2 separate regions of the Homo sapiens genome follow, and region 2 is linked to region 1. Evidence: promoter capture Hi-C in 16 types of primary human blood cells and fetal thymus (Javierre and others, 2016). All regions are on one chromosome and are shown on one strand. Each heading gives the region's core, a stretch centred on a gene start or on the middle of the fragment in contact. The rest is flanking DNA. Distances are from core to core; before and after follow the strand shown.

The links. The method cuts DNA at HindIII sites, captures the fragments that hold promoters and counts their contacts. A CHiCAGO score of 5 or more calls a contact.
Region 2: a fragment that was not itself captured here is called in contact with the fragment with the promoter of SMUG1 in region 1 in 2 of 17 cell types (total B cells and naive B cells); the score reaches 6.1 in total B cells.

What each region holds. Positions count from the first base shown.
Region 1 is chr12:54,187,680-54,190,589 of GRCh38, forward strand. It overlaps SMUG1 (single-strand-selective monofunctional uracil-DNA glycosylase 1), which reads right to left and starts at 1,306. Exons shown (of 4, transcript NM_001243787.2): 1 at 1,272-1,306; 2 at 140-223. LOC105369777 (a long non-coding RNA gene) reads left to right here and starts at 1,418. Exons shown (of 3, transcript XR_944984.2): 1 at 1,418-1,523; 2 at 2,769-2,855. The HindIII fragment of the contact is 2,636 bases long and covers 1-1,617 here.
Region 2 is chr12:54,069,369-54,072,359 of GRCh38, forward strand. The region is part of intron 1 of FLJ12825 (a long non-coding RNA gene); the gene reads left to right. Among named protein-coding and RNA genes, the nearest start is that of FLJ12825, 13 kb to the left of the region's middle. The HindIII fragment of the contact is 377 bases long and covers 1,388-1,764 here.

The sequences.
Region 1 (2,910 bases), core at 56-2,555:
GAATTCTACTCCTGTTTCATCTCTAAGAAGGTTCTCTTGAGCAACTCATTTAACTCTCTTCTCTATGGAAAATCACATACTCCATCCAACCTACCACCTGTTAACTCATTTTTTTTTTCAATACTTATGAGTCTCTTACATGACAGGCACTGCAGCAGTCTCTTGATGAGGAAGAAATCCAAAAAGAGTAAAATGTAGGCCAGGCTTTCTGTAAGCTCATAATCTGCTGTGAGGGCAAATAAACAACTAACTGTAATACAGTGTGATGTGAGCTTTAATACCCGGAACAAAACACTAAGAGAACCCAAAGGAGGAACTTGTAAGTTCTACCCAAAGTCGCCCCAAGAGCCAGAGGCTTAAGAAATGTAGATATTTTATAAAATACGGTGTCATACTACATTAAGCACAAAGACAGCGGAGTTGGACCAAGCGATAAGGCTGACCACCAAGGGCCGACTTCAGACTGATGTCAGACTTCTCTGACATCAAATCCGGGAAGTGAGGAAGGAATCGAAATCACATATGCACTCCCCTGTCCTTTGGAGGCACTCCGGGAGTCCAGGGACAATAATAAATATCCTTAAACGAAATAATAATAATAATAATAATAATAATAAATAATAATAATAATAATAATAATAATAATAATAATAATAATAATGCATAGGCCGGGCGCGGTGGCTCACACCCGTAATCCGAGCACTTTGGGAGGCCGAGGCGGGCGGATCACGAGGTCAGGACTTCGAGACCAGCCTGACCAACATGGTGAAACCCAGTCTCTACTAAATACAAAAATTAGCTGGGCATGGTGGCGCGCGCCTGTAATCCCACCTACTCGGGAGGCTGAGGCAGAAGAATCGCTTGAACCCGGGAGGCGGAGGCTGCAGTGAGCTGAGATCGCGCCATTGCACTCCAGCCTGGAATTCAGAGCAAAATTCCGTCTCAGAAAAATAAATAAATAAACAATAATAATAATAAAGCATAAACTCAAAAAGACCATTTCATCTGGTTCCAAAGGGGCCGACTACTAAGGCACCATACAAAACCTCCGGGGGCGCCCGCTGGCTCCGGCCGACTGGAAAGCCTTGATCCTGCAGACCTCCCAGGCGGTTTCATAGGCTGGGCTCTCCCTGCACTGAGTCTTACCCCATACGGAGGGAGGGACCCCAAAATATAGAAATTCTAACCACCCTCTCGGCTCAGCCCCGACGACCCTGGGAGCCGTCAACTTGCCCCCACAGTCCCGGATTCCCAGCCCCCTACTTCCTCACCTGGTCCAGCTCCCCATCCCGTTTCCGGTTCCTTTCCCCCACCCCAAACCCAACCCCCGGCGCTAAGGACAGTGGGAGTCGTAGTCTACATTGTTTAGGGAAGGAGATTGGCGTACCCGCAGCCACTTCCGCCGGAAATGCTCCAATCCCGGAAGGCGCACTAAATTAGCCCTAAAGATCGCTGGGAATTGTAGTTTAATCTTTCCATCAGCGTTAAATCAGGAAGTCTTGAGAAGTGAAAAGCCACAGCCTGTAAGTACCTAGGAAATCCTGGGTTCTATCCCTAAAGGGCATCGCCCTTCCAAAAGTTCATTCACTATTTTCCCAAAGGGATTGCAAATCAGGAAGCTTCAACCATCCCCAATCCCTCACCCACCTGAAGGTATTAACAATAGCTAAAGACCATTGCTAGGCCCCCTGCCACCGTGGGTATAAGAGACTTCTCCTTTGCAGCCTGCCATTACTTATACAGAACATCCACGAAGACATTTCTGGTAGCTCCTAACAACTTTTTAGCAAGGGGCATCCCCCATTACTGTCCAAGCCCATCTCCAGAGTGTCACCATTTTGACTTCTTTCTCTGCCTTGCTATCTGCCCAACCCTATAACCTCAGTATTAGTCAAGAGTTTTCCAGAGAACAGAACTAACAGGATATCTATCTATATGACGAGATTTATTCCAAGAATTGGCTCACAGGATTGTGGAGGCCAAGAAGTCCCACAGTCTCCCGCTCTGCTGTCTATACACTGGAGAACCAGGAAAACAGGTGGTATAATTCAGGAAAGTCCAAAGCAGGGGAGGAGGCTCACTGCTAAGTCCCAGAGCCTGAAGGACGAAGAACCAGGAACTCCAATGATGTCCAAAGGCAGGTAAAATAGATGTCCCAGCTCATGAAGAAAGAGAATTTGCCTTCCTCCACTCTTTTGTTCTACTGGCCCCCAAGGGATTGGATGGTTCCCACCCATATTAATGAGGGTGATCTTCTTAGTCTACCAATTCAAATGCAAATCTCTTCCAGAAACACTCCACAGACATATCCAGAAATAATGTTTTACCAGCTATCTGGGTGTCCCTTAGACCACTCAAGTAGACACATAAAGTTAGCTATCACTCTTCCATCCAAATCTTCTCCCTCAAATACTTTGTCCAGGAAGGCTTCCCTGATCAATCCTCATCCCATGGCTGCACCTAACAGTCCATTCCCCCACCATTCCCCCATCCCAATATCTATGTCCAAATCTGTCCTATTCCTAGTTTTGTTCTTGTGCTCTATCTGGGTCTGGTTCTGTGTCGTGACTCTAAAACTTTCATTAGACTGGGAACCCCCTAAGGTTAGTTATCTTCTATATTCCTCCCACCCCACAATCTCCACACACCTTAGCACAGCCAAGGCTCTAATCACAGAAGCAAGGTCTCCCTGTGAGTGGTAGAAAAGGAGACCTATAAACCCCAGAACAGGAAGAAGTGAGAGAAAAAGGATGCTATTCCCTTCCCAGGACTTGTCTGATCTCCTATCAACAAAAACTTAATGGGTGCAGTAGGAGCTTCAGGGAGCTGTGAGCAGTGACCTGCTGACATCAAGGGTGAGAAACTACCCTGACCCTTGCAAGACTTTGGAAATGGAATTAATCATCCACC
Region 2 (2,991 bases), core at 326-2,825, 120 kb before region 1:
CTGTAGATTCGGAAGGATAAAATGTGAGTATTTATCAGGAACTTAAAACTATTATCATTGGCAAGAAAGTAAAAGTTGTATAGTGAATTGAGGCTTTTTCTTTGTATGGAATCACAGAATGTTAGATATTGAAGGGACCTTAGAGTTCATGTGGAAACTGAGGCTTGGAGAGTTTTAAATGACTTGTCCAAGGTCACACAGCGAGTAAATGGCTGAGACACATTTAGACACCATATTAGTTTGCTTGGACTGCCATAACAAGAACCACAGCATGGACAGCTTAAACAACAGAAATTTATTTTCTCATAGTTCTGGAGGCTAGAAGTCCAAGATCAAGGTGTTAGCAGAGTTGGTTTCTTCTGAGGCCTCTCTCCTTGGCTTGTAGATGTCTGTTGTCTCCCTCTGCTTTGTCTGTGTCCTAATCTCTTTTTTTTTTTTTTTGAAATGGATTTTCACTCTTGTTGCCCTGGCTGGAGTGCAATGGCACGATCTCAGCTCACTGCAACCTCCACCTCCCAGGTTCAAGAGATTCTCCTGCCTCAGCCTCCCAAGTAGCTGAGATTACAGGCGCAAGCCACCATGCCTGGCTAATTTTTGTATTTTTAGTAGAGACACGGTTTCACCATGTTGGTCAGGCTGGTCTCGAACTCCTGACCTCAGGTGATCCGCCCACCTCGGCCTCCCAAAGTGCTGGGATTACAGGCATGAGCCATCGCACCTGGCCTGCTGATCTCTTCTTATAAGGACAGTAGTTATATTTAATTAGAGCCTACCCATATAATCTTGCCTTAACTTAATTACCTCTTTAAAGGGCCTATCTCCAAATACAGTCACATTCTGAGTTACTGAGGGTTAGGACTTCAAGAAATGGAACTTGCGGAGACACAATTCAGCCCTTAACTGACACCATGACTCTGGATTCCTAGTCCGCTGCCATTGTGCCCATGTCAGACTAAGTCATCTGGTGGATCCTATTCTTAAGTTGGCTCAATTTTGTTATGTTTCTTAGGGATGGGGAAGCTGTTTAGAGCCAACGTGAAATTGAAAACTGTTTCCTGGAGCCAAGGCCCATTGGGAAACTGAGTGAGCATGGGCTGGGGAATCCGGGATTAGGCTGACCACCAAACACTGGGAAATGGAAGTTTCTAACCAGAATCTTGGAACTGGAAAGAACTCAGTGAGGTTAACTTAGCCATCTCAGATGGAGGAGAACTTACCTGGTATGTTCAGAGAACACAACTGTCTGAGAGCTCTCATCACTGATATATTCTTTCTTATGTGTATTCAGATTCTTCAGGCCAAGCTCAAACCCCTATCCCTTGCCTCCAGTCCTCAGCGTTGGACAGTAAGATAAAACTCATCCAATAAGAGAGGTTTTCTCCCTTGAAGCTTGAAGAAGCCTTGACAAGATCTTAAGGAAATTTTTTTATTCAAGAGAGCCTCTTTCTCTCCTCATCTGAGGCTGGAGGTGGGGAATTTAGAGGCAAAAACTTCCCTTACCCCGTTGTTGTCTGTCCTAAGACCTTCAGCCCCTTATCTGGGCCCTGGCCAGCTCTAGAAAATGGATTAAGGTGAGTTGATATGTAATGTGGTACAGAAGCAGGGAGAGGGGAGAAGCCCTCTAATATCGCAGAGATCACAGATGGCTCCAGTGGGATTATGGGGCATGGTGTATGATGAGGCTTGTGCCAAAAAGTGGCCACAACCAGGAAGAAGGGTCCATCTTATTATGATGGTTGGTGACTCTCCCTGCCATGGAGAGCAAGCTTGGATTCTGGGGTTTGGAGGGAGCAACTCCAAAAATATCCAGCTGAAACACACAGAGCCAGAGTCAGCATGGTGCTGGGACTAGTACTGGTTCAGGGATCAGAACACCTGGGTTCTGATCTCTGTCTGAGCCTCAGTTTCTCTTCCTTCACAATGAAGTGGTTTGATTAGGTTATCACTAAGATCCTTCCAGCTCTGAGACTCTAAGCAAAAACTGAAGGATGCTGGGGGGCAGGGAGAAGGAATACTCTTTGTAGCAAATCAGATGATGGACTATGTGTCTCTGTGAACCAAACCAGGCACAGAAAACTCTCCATCTTCATTCCAGAGTTGGTGGGGGGTGGGGGAGTAGGGGGTGTTAGCTGTGGTGTCTCCTTATTTGACAACTCAACCTTTTCCACAGAGCCCCTGCAGACACACTATGGGGAGCTGTTTCCCTTAAGGACCCTGCCCCTGAGGGAAGAGAGGCAGAAACAAGATGGGGCAGGAAGTTGGAAAGGGTGTCTGCATGATGCCAATAGCCAGGTGAAAACAGAGAAATCAGCCCACTATCTGCTTAGTTTCAAATAGAATAAAGGGATCCAATTTTGTAGCTTTCATCTGATGTAATGGATAATGAGATGCAGGATCAGCCTTTTGCAGTGATTCAGTTTAAAGCCCCTGGGAAGGATCTGTTTCCCCCTCCCCAATTATCCTGCCACAAAAAAGCCTTAAGTTCCACCATTAAAGCACATGGTGTTAAGTACAGTCCTCTGCAGATCACATCCTTTAAAATACAAAAGCACCACTGGGATACTTCATCAAACAAGGATAGAATCAGAAAAGTAGTGCTTAGGGGGTATGCTTAGGGAGATGAGGGGCCCTGAAGATTAATCTCTAGATACTTCTCAGTTTCACATTGCCTGATCCTTGTGGGAAAGCTAGATTCTGCCTGAGGAAGTGGGAACTCAGGGACTCCCCTAGAAACCAGATGCCTGCAATTATGAGTATATTTCTAGTCCTGGGAAATGGGTGGACTCTAAGTGGTGAGGGTAGTTATCACACCAAAAAATCACAGAGGCTGCCAGTAAAACTTAAATCAGGGGGATGGAAATTCTGATAATATACGTGCATTTGGGTCAGCCACTATAGAAACCAGTGTAGAAGTACTTCATGGGGCCCCCTGTATGTCCAGAGGATATAAAACTATTCCAGAGGGGGAAAAATCCCTTCCATTTCTATGAT